Linked DNA regions of Homo sapiens: regions 2 and 3 are each linked to region 1. The links are contacts of gene promoters, found by promoter capture Hi-C in blood cells and fetal thymus (Javierre and others, 2016). All regions are on one chromosome and are shown on one strand. Each heading gives the region's core, a stretch centred on a gene start or on the middle of the fragment in contact. The rest is flanking DNA. Distances are from core to core; before and after follow the strand shown. Region 1 holds the start of CASK-AS1 (CASK antisense RNA 1). Region 2 overlaps CASK (calcium/calmodulin dependent serine protein kinase). Region 3 overlaps CASK (calcium/calmodulin dependent serine protein kinase).

What was found. The method cuts DNA at HindIII sites, captures the fragments that hold promoters and counts their contacts. A CHiCAGO score of 5 or more calls a contact.
Region 2: a fragment that was not itself captured here is called in contact with the fragment with the promoter of CASK-AS1 in region 1 in 1 of 17 cell types (M2 macrophages); the score reaches 5.2 in M2 macrophages.
Region 3: a contact is called between a fragment that was not itself captured here and the fragment with the promoter of CASK-AS1 in region 1, in 2 of 17 cell types (M2 macrophages and M0 macrophages). The highest score is 7.0, in M2 macrophages.

The regions. Positions count from the first base shown.
Region 1 is chrX:41,515,776-41,520,071 of GRCh38, forward strand. CASK-AS1 (CASK antisense RNA 1) reads left to right here and starts at 1,987. Exons shown (of 2, transcript NR_046581.1): 1 at 1,987-4,296. It overlaps CASK (calcium/calmodulin dependent serine protein kinase), which reads right to left. Exons shown (of 27, transcript NM_001367721.1): 27 at 1-4,296. RefSeq lists an enhancer at 1,042-1,543. The HindIII fragment of the contact is 5,609 bases long and covers 1,944-4,296 here.
Region 2 is chrX:41,738,782-41,743,136 of GRCh38, forward strand. It overlaps CASK (calcium/calmodulin dependent serine protein kinase), which reads right to left. Exons shown (of 27, transcript NM_001367721.1): 5 at 603-675. Among named protein-coding and RNA genes, the nearest start is that of GPR82, 17 kb to the left of the region's middle. The HindIII fragment of the contact is 2,659 bases long and covers 964-3,622 here.
Region 3 is chrX:41,765,891-41,770,093 of GRCh38, forward strand. All of the region lies in intron 3 of CASK (calcium/calmodulin dependent serine protein kinase), which reads right to left. Among named protein-coding and RNA genes, the nearest start is that of GPR82, 44 kb to the left of the region's middle. The HindIII fragment of the contact is 4,027 bases long and covers 249-4,203 here.

The DNA of each region.
Region 1 (4,296 bases), core at 737-3,236:
TCTGGGTCCAGAGAGGGTCACCCCTAAGCCTCTGTCAGTAAGAACACTGGCGTGTTCTCTCAGTCACACACCAGAGAGAATGGAGCTAACACATAAGTAGCAGCTAAATTCTGAGTTTCTGAGCATACGCAGAGATGGAGTTGTGCTTGGGGCCAGAAAGGAGGTCTCCTGTGTGGTGACAAACATCTCTTTCCATTTTCTTTTGCTCAGTCCATTTGCACAGGTTCGAGGGAGTTGATGGAGGGTCAGACGAGAGGTGGTGGGAGCTCAGGATTTTCTATTCCCACAAAGAGCTAAGACTTAGGAGTGCTGGCCCCAGAGATGGTGCGGCCCTCTTTCTACTTCTGTTTCTGTGGGCTCTGTCTGCCCACCTGCTGCACAAAGCAAGGCAGGGGAAAGACCGGATGGGAACATGGTGGTGAATATCCTCTTTTTTTCCCTTTTCCCCCACTTCCTGGATGTAGGTGACAGCTAAACTTCACCCACTAAGCTGGAAAATCTGGGACTCCCCATAGCTCCAAGTTTAAGGCAAACTGATGTGTGTGTGCACAGGCAAAGCCAATCAAGCCATGAGCTTGGAGGAGAGTCCTGTATCCAGAGATTCCAAACAGAGAGGGAAATCTTATTTCTAAAGGAGTTAGAAAAGGAAAGGCTCTGGCAAATGAAATGATCTGTGATTAAAGCTTGTAGCCTTTCTGTAAGCTGCAGTGAGAAGGAAAGCATCTTTTAATAGAAGAATTAATTAGAGGCGCAGAACAAGAAAGCCACGCTCAGGGACCTTTAACTTATTACAGCCTGTAATCGCTCTCAGTATTGTAAGCCCTAGTCAAGAGGATGGAATTAGGAGGCTGTGTTCAGTTCTGAGAAAACAAGAAACACACACGAGTTTGATAATAGGAAGCAAGAAGGAGGAGGGATGAGGATGACAAGGAGCTTGGTTTTGGAATGCCGATTCCAAGGTGCCTTCTCTTTTCAAAGAGACAGTGTGGGAGGCATTTCTATTAAGAATTTGTTAATCAAGCAGTTTTCTTGGTAGCTTTAGCAACACATTCTCTTTGCCCCAAGTTAAGAAACTGGCCTGAAATGAAAAAAAAAAAGGACATGACATCAGTGGGGGACAAAAGAGAGCTGGCTTTGGGCTGCCTTGTTTTTCAGGGGCAGTTTCCACGCTGGGAATCTTCCTGGAGGGTGGTTCAATTGACTAAACTTTTTCAAGAAATAAACTTGAAGCCTTAATGAAGAGACAAATACAAGTGATTTAAAAACAAAAGAACTCTGCAGCGATCAGATCAAAGGCTGTAAAAAGGTAACAGTAGCTGCAGCCCAGGCCTGCCTGGAGCACAGGGGAAGGCTTGGCCCACTGGCTGTCTCTAGCAGCCTAAGAAGGAATTGGACGGGGAACAGGAACACCTCCTGCATTTCTACTGCAGTGGGGGACTTTGCGACATCTTTAGATATTCTGCCACCAATAGGATGGGCTGGGACGATGCCTTCTGAATGCAAATAGCAAGAAGTAGGTCAACCATTTGTTTTCCTCTCTGAGCAAAGATTTTAAATCATCTCACCTGACAAGAGATACATTTAATTGCATTTAAAAAGGCTACAATGTTATCTTGACACTGGGAAACTTCCAGATGAATTAAATTGAGTGACATTTCCCTTTTTAGCATTAAAATGGGATATGCTGTATGTGCAAAGTAATTACTGTCTTGTGACTGGAAAATCAGGACATTTCATCTTTTTAACAAAGAATTCAACATATAAAAACACTCCCTTTCTTGCTGTGGGGAATGGAGTTGGGTGGGGGAGAGAACCTTCAAAATGTGGCTCTCCAATACTTCAATTGACCACTAATAAGATTTAGTACTCTAAACATTCATTCTGGTCTTTAAAAGAAAGAAAGAAAAAAAAAGGTTCTGCTGATGGAATGGAAGCAGTAAAGAAGCTTTTAGCAATTTTCTCTGATTGCTTAGTGGACAATTGTAATGTAGCAGTAGCAGCAGCAGCAGCAGCAGCAGCAGCAGCAGCAGCAGCAGCAGCAGCAGCAATGTACTGAAATTACTCTGAATTCAGAAATGTAAGTATATGCAGCTAGGTCATAAAGACACTGCTTTAGAGAAGACATGTATTAGTGGAATGGAACAGGTAACATCTTTGAGAAGTCAATGAGTTCTGCATGCAGGGATTTCACCATCGGAATGATGGCAAGAATGATGCCTGCCTGTGTGCTTCTCAGAGGACGTATAAAGCCACTGAGGATGAGTGCTACAGTGCTTGTGAATTGTGGGGCCACAGACATTTAAGTTGGCATTGCTTTTCTCCTCCTCTGCTTAATCCACCTTTATAAATATGGCAGATGGCTTAAGACAGGCATCATCAGCATCTCTGGAGATGTGGGCTCAAAGGGCAAGTGGGGGCGTGGGGGTTTCCACTAGAGGGAGGGAAGTTTCTGTTTCCCATGTGTTAGTTGTAGTTGTCTTTGTGCTTCACCAGAAAAGAGGTAGAGTGCGCACCTTCACACTAAGAGCCCGAAATTGTGGTCAGTACCATACCAGGAACGACTGTCTGGCCTTGGCATCTATCAGATTCGAATCAGTTCTAACACAGCCCTACCCAACTCTTTGAAGGTTTCTCTCTCTATCTAGTGTGAGACCACTGTTGAGCTTATCTCTGGTTTGGTGGCTTGGTCACCCCACTGTGGGGCCCATACAGAAGTAGTTCACTCAATACCTTGTTAGTAAGTTGCAGACTCATCTGGTCACTGGCAAAGAACAACATCAGAAAAAAAAAAATCGCCACCATTTAATAATAGGCGGTGGGGGGCGGAGGCGGGTATGGTGTTGACAATGTAAAAGAAGTATACTAATGCCTTCTCTGTTTGGTCCTTTAAGAGGAGCTGTTCAGCTCAGAACACACCCTGCACATCCTGCCAAGGCACAAAGTGACAAGGCCATCTAACCTACAAGAAGCAAAAAATGATGGTATGTTTTCAAGGATCACAGGTTAATATAAGCACTTCACACCCTCACATGCTAATGAAAAACATTCTACTGACCTCTGGCAAAGAGTCTGAGAACCCCAGCCCGAATCTCCTGTATTGGAAGAATGTGACTTCATGGAAGAGTTATGAGATGGTTAATGTCTCTAAAGCAACAAGGACAGATGATTCCCCTGTGCCAAGGGATACAGCAAGAGGAAGGAGAGACCACAGGTGGCCTCCAGTACACCCGTGGCCCTTGGGCGCATGGCTCTGTGCGAGTCAGACGTGGTCCAGCTGTGCTCTGGCAGGCTACTTTGTCACCCTGCCAACTGATACTCACTCCTGGGCCTTCAAAGGTTCAATGAGCATCTAACAAATTATACAATTGTAAAGATTATCAGCTTGGAAGCCTGAACAAATCTATAATGAAATGAAGGACCCAAAGGCATTTAATTATTGAACACATAAAAGGAAGTATATTTAAAAAAAATTGGTCAAACTGTCCTGTTAGTTATCATTTTAAAGGAATTTACAGGGCTGTTATAGATGATTCTTTTGGAATATTTCAGTTTATAGCAAATGCCTAAACTGGTTTCTTCATTGCACAGTATTTTCTCTTAAAATGGGTGCTTTAAAACAATTACATACAGATTAAAAATCATTTCTTTGCTTAATTAAAACGTTAATACTCTTAGACAACACAGATCTGAAATGGTGAAACCAGCAATTCCCCCCACCCCACCTTACAACAAATTAAATTGAGACAAAATTACAAACACATTTCACTACATGATTATTATTAATAAAAATCAGTTTCTTTTTTTTTATAAAGTTGCCCAAAATGCAAGGGATGTGCATAGGTTTACAACTTAGTCATAATAGCATTTTATTCTTATTCCCCTGGGTGTGCCCCATGAACGGAATGTAGAATGTACTTTGCTGTAGATTACAGATTGTTTTGTCCAACACAGACACACCGACAGCATAAACGCTCGCGACTGTCCACATGCATTAAGAGTCAAGACCCAACTTCAAATCTCTAAAAGGTTTACAGGGTGCTTCAAAGAGACAGTATCACATTATCTGGATGTTACATAAAGGACTTAAAAAAAAATACTATTCTAAAAAAAAAAAAAGAGAGAAAAAAGGCCTTTAAAAATTTATGACTGTTTTGTAATCACTACACTAATTATTTCAAATAAATAAAGGAAAGAAAGATATCCCAATATTCCAATCCATAAAATCAGACTCTAAAAAGAATGTAGTGTTCCACCCCCAGTCAAGGTAACAGAATCATTGTTTATTATTATTAAAAT
Region 2 (4,355 bases), core at 1,043-3,542, 220 kb after region 1:
CTCATTTCTTGCCTCCCTCTATGTTTGGCTTGACACCGTTAAAGAACCAGGAACTGAGAGTTCTCATTAACCCGATACTGGGATGAAATAGGCAGAAAGACTGAATAATGATAATACCGGTATTCCAAGCATAAAATCGTATTACATGTATAATTATGATTTCATACTATATTTAAAAACTATCTGCAAAAAAATACAATGCTGACTATTCTGCATTGCAATATTATGAAAATATGTTATGATTAACTTTTACTATATAAACCAAATTCTAATTTCCCCCCCAATTAACTCAGTATAGGATATTGTTTGGTTTTTCCTATTTATTGGATTTTTCATTTCTCTCTCACACACAATGGCAAAAGAGAAATAATACAATTTTAGATTGCATGAACACTTCAGTAAAAATAAATAAATTGAAATTATAGTGTTCCTAGTAAGAATTAGTACAATGACTTCCCAAATACAAAGCAGTTAAATACATTTTTACTTAGAAGTAAAATTAAGATGTTCTTTATGACAATATTAAAGAAGAATTCTTGATTATCATTGTTATATCAGTATTTCTTCACAAACATTAAAGTTAGTGATAACAAATGACTTACCTTCACATCCCTGTGAATTATGTTATTATCATGGCAGTAGCGTAGAGCTTCCAGTATCTGTCTCATATAATGGCTGTAAAAAACAAAAGAAATCTAAAAACTGTAAACAATTTTTATTTTAAAACTTAATATACAGTGCTCCTAGTTTATAACTCCCACTCTCATATTAGCTGTCCATGGACACATTTGATTTGAGCAGACAGGATTGGTGTAAAGTGAGGCTTAATAATGAAAATGTTGGCAGACTCAAAAGTTTATGGGCTTCATGAAGAAATAGTATGCTCTATATTTTCTAAGCTATCTAAGTCAAAAGAATTACACATAGTTCATAAGTAAATTTGCTTTGCAAACTAAAAATTCAAGCTTAAAACATGACAATTTTTTTCCCCAATACTCAGGTAATTCTACTTAAACTGGACTGCGTTATGTAAACAGTGCTCAGGGCTGCCCCAAGGATTCAGACTCAAGCAGTGGGAGCCTTTGATCTGCCAGCAAATAATAAGATGCTCTTCATCTTACTTCTATTTAGCTGTGAGGACAAATGAGGGAAGAGCCACCCTTATCGGACAATTTCTTTTTGTAACATAATCAAGTTTTAGTTGGGGCTCCCTTGAACAAAGTGGAGTTAATTCTAGGCACATGTCCTAGAAAGCCTGACTCCTTACATGGCCAGCTGAGGAGCCCTCATGGAGCACAGGTGAAGAACAAAGAAGAAATCAGCATTTTAAAGAACAGGAATTAAAAAATGGTAATGGGGTTAACTAGCAACCATGTGTGACAAGAGCAGTTGATTCAGTACCACTTTAGAACCTCCTTCTCCTATTTCTAAAGTTCTTCTATAATTGCCCTATTACTCTTTCTCTGAGTATCTGTTTCATTTTCTGTATTTTATTCCCTCCATATTTGTCTCTTTTCTTCCTATTCCCCTTCTTTTCTCATTTTTTCCCTTTTCCTTCCCAACCAGCATGACAGAAATGCAATAGACTTAACACTGTTCACTGTATAATATTTATAGAATTTTGTTTTGTTTCCAGATCTTATATTTCTGATACAAGTGACCTTGAACATGTGTATGTGACTCAGGACTAAAAAAAAAAAAAAAATCCCTATCCTGGCTTTACAATTAAAAGACATTTCCATCAAGTTCCCTCTTTGGCATGATACCATTTAATCAAGCTCACAGGAATATTTCTCTAGTTAGCATATGCATTATTTCATGTATTACAATTAATTGGAAAGGTTCCATTTTAAAAATGAAAGGTAGGAGAAAAAACAAAAACAAAAACAAACCCAAGCCTTGTTCCTGTACTAATCACAAGCCTTGTTCCTGTACTAATCACAGGCTCCTTACAACGGGGCTTTAAGCCAGAGAGCTAGGCTCATGTAATCATTAGCTCTGATGTTTTAATTTATCTTACTTTGCAAATGCACATATAAGGGGTTGTGCTCATATACTCTTTGCTTGGGCCATTGTAGCCTGTAATTAAGTTTTGTTTATTTTTTATTTTTATTTTTTGAGATGGAGTTTCCCTCTTGTCTCCCAGGCTGGAGTGCAATGGTGGGATCTCGGCTCACTGCAACCTCTGCCTCCTGGGTTCAAGCGATTTTCCCGCCTCAGCCTCCCAAGTAGCTGGGATTACAGATATGCGCCACCACGCCTGGCTAGTTTTTGTATTTTGAGTAGAGACAGGGTTTCACCATGTTGGCCAGGATGGTCTCAAACTCCTGACCTCAAGTGATCAGCCTGCCTCAGCCTCCCAAAGTGCTGGGATTACAGGCATGAGCCACCACGCCTGGCCATAAGTTTTGTTCAAATGAGGGGTTAACTTGGTGTTGTGGCCCATTACTGGTTCAAATCAGGCTTTGGAAGATCTGTAACCCCTTGAAATGGCTAAGAGACTACACCTGTCAAAGTGCTTTGTAAACTCTAAACCATGCTACAAAGGTTAAGACATTATTAGTACAATATTATTATTGTTAAGTTCAATCAAAGATTTAGGAACAGCTTATTTGTCCATCTAGATGTCAACATGGAAATACTGGGTAAATTTAAATTAGTTAAAGTGGACATAGCTTGTACCCACAGAATGAACTATTTTGGATACAAAGCACTGAGACAGCCACCTAAATTATCTTTAACCTAAAGAAAATTCCTATCTCAAAGTCTCATAACACAAAACCAAACTCAATGAATGAGGCTTTTTTCATTTGCATATGAGAACACTCAATTACTTGACCCAAACGTATGTACACAGCAGAATCTTTGCGGCGTGTGTGGAGACAGTGGAACTGTTTTTCTTCCCAAGTTATAACAGAACTGAACTATCTTTCTCCACCCTCCCAGTCATGATCCTGCGAGGCAATGCATGTCAAAGTGTGCAAGCAGAATAAAACAAGAACTAAAATCTGCCCACATGTTCTAGGAAGTTGCTGACTAAACTTTTAATCAAAAAACTTCACTTCATGAAGCATCATAGAGACCTGTGCTTTCAGAGAAACTCAGCAATATATTTGTTTATCTTTATCTTTCCTAAGGATCAGCAAGATAATAACTCCATGGAAGGAAAAAGCTGGCCAGCAATGCATTTACTGCCTTTGGAAGGAGGCATTTCAGGGGTGCAGCATGGTAGAAGAGAGGTGATTCAGTCTGCTATTCTTGTCAATGCAGGTGAAAAGCCTAATGCTATTTGCTAGGCAGAAGAGACCTTATCTCTGAAATGCCCTTAATAGGATATCTCTGGCTAAGGATTACTATGGTAAGTAGAACACGGGATCTCTGAGGCACAGATGGCTTCCTGGAGAATGTCAATGGAGCTATCCAAATCTCTGGGGTGTAAAATGAAGATATTTGCAATGCTCCCCTTTGTGTGTGGAAACCCACAAACCCCAGTATAAACCTCATCTATTCTGGGCCAGAGGTGCATTTCTGAGGCAGTAAGAAGTGACGTGGGGGGCTGCCCTTCCCTTCTCTGCTTCACTTGAGCCTTCTGACTGCCTGTATCCTTGAGATTATTTAGTAAAGCTTGGTACTAGTTAAGAAGATCTCTGAGAGTTTGATTTGATAATCTGATCTTGTGTGTTAGCTCACTCCACAACTCATCACCCCTGAAAGGATGGAGGTAATAACTAATTGGGTTGCACTAAGGACTGAACACAGTTTTATTTTATGCCATGCTTTGCTGCTCCTCTTGAAGCTCAGCCAGTTGGAGAAAAACAACATTATCAATTTGATTACTTGGTGTCTCAGAGTCTTCTTGCAGTCGGTCTCACTAGAATACTGATACAAGCTGAATTTCCTAACAATAAATCACAGAATCAGAGAGGACGAAGAAAGATTAGAAGTCATCTGTCATTAAACCAATGGAAGAATCTACGCGCCCTTGTTGCATGGTCATTGATCCTCTGCAATAGCAAACACACATAATAATACTTTCTGAGTCCCCGCCTACTTTTTTTTATTGTTCAGAGGAAGAACCTTTAATAAACTGCCTCCAAACCTCTCTCTTTGCAATGTCATCTACTGGTCCCAATGCTACTCTTTTCTGGTCCACTCTGGAAAGTTCCTTTCACCATTTTAACAGCTTATACAGGTGGCTTTAAAAATCAATAGGCTTTCATTTTGATGTGTATAAACATCTACCTTTTCTATAAATCTCAAGATTAGGAGAGACCACAAGTCATGTCATTGTATGACATCATCTCTTCACACTACCATCCTGCTTATCCTGACATGTAGCCCAGTGGCAGAGATAG
Region 3 (4,203 bases), core at 1,012-3,511, 250 kb after region 1:
AAAGACAATTTTAAAAATTAAAAACAAACTGATGCAGATATCTGAATAAGATCAGTGGATTGTATCAATGTCAATATCCTGGCTGTGACACAGTAGTTTTGCAGAATGTTAATTTTGGGAAGAATTGGGCAAAGTCTACAAGGATCTATATTTCTTATAGCTGTATGTGAATCTAAAATTGTAATAAAAACTATGTAAATAAAAAAACAAACTGAAACAAACAAACAAACTTAAATCTATCTATATCAAGCTTGTGGCAAAACCACAATGAGAAGAGTTATTTAAAATTTCTTTAAAACCCAGGGTTTTGATTGTGCATTCCTGTGGGATATACCCTTCGGATGAAAAGAAGTGCAAAGAAATCCTAATCTGCATTCAATAGTCTTATTTTTATTGCATATTTAAACTAGTAGGATGAAGCAAATAAGTATATTAATGTGGCAAGGAACCCAGATTTTCAGAGATAAGATATACAAATATAAAACTTAAAAAGTTAAAAACTATGTAATTTCTTTCTCACTTAAAAAAACTTTATATTATGGAAAATTTCAAAAGTAGAAAATACAGAGTTTCATACATTCATTACACTGCTCTAACAATTAACAACACATTGGCCAATCTTGTTTCACCTGTATTCCAACATAGTACCCACTGCCTACCCACTGCTTGATTTTGAGGCAAATCCCGGACATCAATAAAACATTATGCATAAATGGCTAGGCGCACTGGCTCACGCCTGTAATCCTAGCACTTTGGGAGGCAGAGGCAGGTGGATCACTTGAGCTCAGGAGTTTGAGACCAGCCTGGCCAAAATGGTGAAACGCTGTCTCTATAAAAAATACAGAAATTAGCCGGGCATGGTGACGCGCACCTGTAGTCCCAGCTACCTGGGGGGCTGAGGCAGGAGGATGGCTTGAACCTGGGAGGTGGAGGTTGCAGTGAGCCGAGATTGGGCTACTGCATTCCAGCTGGGGCAACAGAGTGAGACCCTGTTTCAAAAAAACAAAAACAAGAGCATTATGCATAAATATTTCAGTACTTATCTCCAAAAGGTAAGAACTCTTTTTTGTTATATAACTATAATACCAAAATTACTTATAATAATTCCTTATAATTTAATAACTGTCTTGTAAATAAAAATCTGTAATTGCTACTTTAAACTGGAAATGGTGTAAACTCATGGTTTCTTTTTTGTTTGTTTAGAGTAAAGAAAACTTTTTATTTTAGAATAATTTTAGATTGACGTAAAAGTTGCAAAGATAGTACAGTTGATCCTTTAACAACACAGTTCTGAACTGTATGGGTCCACTTATATGCAGAATGTTTTCAACCAAATGCAGATAAAAAATACAGTATTTGCTAAATGCGAAACCTGCCTATATGGAAGGCTAACTTCCTATATATGGGTTCCACAGGGCTGACTGCAGAGCTTGAGATGCGTGGATTTTAGTACACGTGAGGTTCCAGGAACCAATCCCCTGCATATATACTGAGGAATGATTGTACAGAGAGTTCCTGTATACCACTAAATGAACTTCTTCTAGTGTTATCATCTTAGGTAACTATAGTACACTTGTAAAAGCTAAGAGTAACTCTGGTACATTACTATTAACTAAACTCCAGACTTTACCTGGACTTCATCAGTTTGTCAACTATATACTTTTTCCCTTGCCATTTAGGATTCCACGTTGCATTTAGTCGTCAAGATTCCTTAGTCTCCTCTGGTTGGTGACAGTTTCTTAGTCTTTACTTGTTTTTCATGACCTTGATAGTTTTAAAGCATGCTGGCCAAGTATTTTATAGAATGTTCCTCAATTTGGGTTTGTCTGATGTCTCCCTCTTGCCTAGGTCAGGGTTATGGGTTTCTTGGGAAGAATATCAGAGGTGAAATGCCCTTCTCATCACATCATATCAAGGAGCGGATGATATACGCAGGAATGATCACTGGTAATGCTAATGTGATCACTTGGTGAAGATAATCTGTTAGTTCTCTCTACTGTAAAATTACTATTTCCCTCTCCATACTTTGTTCTTTGAAAGTGAGTTACTAAGTCCAACCTACACTCAAGGGTGGAGGGAAATTATCTATACCTAACACTTGGAATTCTTCTTTTTTTCTCTCTCAATTGTTTATCTAATTATTTCTTTATATCACTATGCACTCATAAGTATTTATTTTATACTTTGGATTGTAATCTATACTGTGTTATTTTTTGCTCAAATTGTTCCAGTTTTGGCCACTGGACATGCTTTCAGGTTGGTTCCTATGTCTCTCTGATATGCCCCCATCTTTTTGAATACTTCCTTACCTTCAGGCACTCTAAGATGCTTCATGTTTATCTTATATTTTCTCTTTTCCAGCCCTAGAATTTATAATCATTTTTCCGAGGATCCCTGGCTGCTTAAATTAGAGGAGGACATTCAGAAACAAAAATCTAGGTGTGGGTATGCTTTAGGCTCTCTAAGTGGACAGAGCTAGGAATGTATGTGTACTAACTCATGTATGCACATATAATTTATGATTTCTGTATATATCTGTACATGTATATGTGTATGTGTGCGTGTGTGTACATATAATAAATTCAATATGAGATTATACTGCTGTCTTCAACTCTAATCTAGTAGCTAAGAGTTCATTCTAGCCTTCCCTATTGCTTATCTGTAATTTTCTGACAGAATTTTAATGTTCTGCATGTTAAAAAAAAATCAACAAGCAAAATAAAACAGGCAGATTTGGGGAAAATATTTACAAATACATGAAAAAGGTAAATATCTTTAGCAAATAAAGAATTCTTCGCCAGGTGTGGTGGCTCATGCCTGTAATCCCTGCACTTTGGGAGGCCAAGGTGGGAGGACTGCTTGAGCCCAGGAGTTCAGAACCAGCCTAGGCAAGCAAGGGAGAGCCCATCTCTATTAAAAACAAAAAACAAAAACAAACAAACAAAAAAGAATTCTTACAACTAAAACAACTAAGGAAAACTAAACAACTAATGAAAGTGACTAGATGCAAAAGAAATGGGTAAATTTACTTTTAAAATATTTGACCACACTAATGACAAAATAAATGCAAATTAAACCAAAACATCCTTTTGACCTATCAAAATGTAAACATAGATACATTTATTTACCATGTGTGAATATAAATTGGTAAATCTTTATGGAGAGTAATATGAAAACTACGTTAAAAGAGTTTTAAATACATTGCTAGAGTTCTGCTTCTTGTAATGGTAGACTAGATGATGTCTCCCATTGAAGACAACTAAATAAGTAAAAAAAAAAAGTACTTTTTTCTTTTCTTTTTCTTTTTCTTTTTTTTTTTTTTTGAGACAGAGTCTCACTCTGTCGCCTAGGCTGGAGTACAGTAGTATGATCTTGGCTCATTGTAGCCTCCATCTCCTGTGCCCAAGTGATCCTCCCGCCTCAGTCTCCTGAGTAGCTGGGACTATAGGTGCATACCCCCATGCTTGGCTAATTTTTAAACTTTTTTAGAGATGAGGTCTCACTATATTTCCCAGGCTGGTCTCTAATTCCTGGGCTCAAAAGGGAAAATGAGTGAGAATTCAAGAGAATCTGATAAACTCTACTCTCCAGCACTGAGCTGATGCCCTAAAGAGCTAGGGGTGAACTGGAAGCAATCAGCCCCTTCACAGACTTGCAACCCGGCTTTACATCTAGGTGGCACTGAAAATCTAAGCCTTAAATCTTGAGTAAGAAAGTCTTAAACAGCTAGGTGCCTGAAGGTTCGCAGTAGAAGCAGCAAATAAAAATCCTCTTTGGGCCAGGCACAGTGGCTCATGCCTGTAATCTCAGCACTCTGAGGAGGCAGGATGATTCCTTGAGCCCAGGAGTTCAAGACCAGCCTGGGAAACACAGTGAGACTATGTCTGTACTAAAAATAAAAAAAATTAAGTGGCTGTGGTGGTGTGTGCCTGTCATCCCAGCTACTCAGGAGGCTGAGGCAGGAAGATCACTTGAGCCCAGGAGGTAGAAGCTGCAGTGAGCTGTGATTGAGCCACAGCATTTCAGTCTGGGCAACAGAGTAAGACCCTGTCTCAACAACAACAACAACAACAACAAAATTCCTCTTTGGAGAAAGAAAGCATCATCTTAGGCCAATAATTTTCAACATAATTTCTAGCACAAGACAAAAATGAATAAGGTACATGAAGGGATAAGAGATCTCGACCAATAACCAGCAAAAAT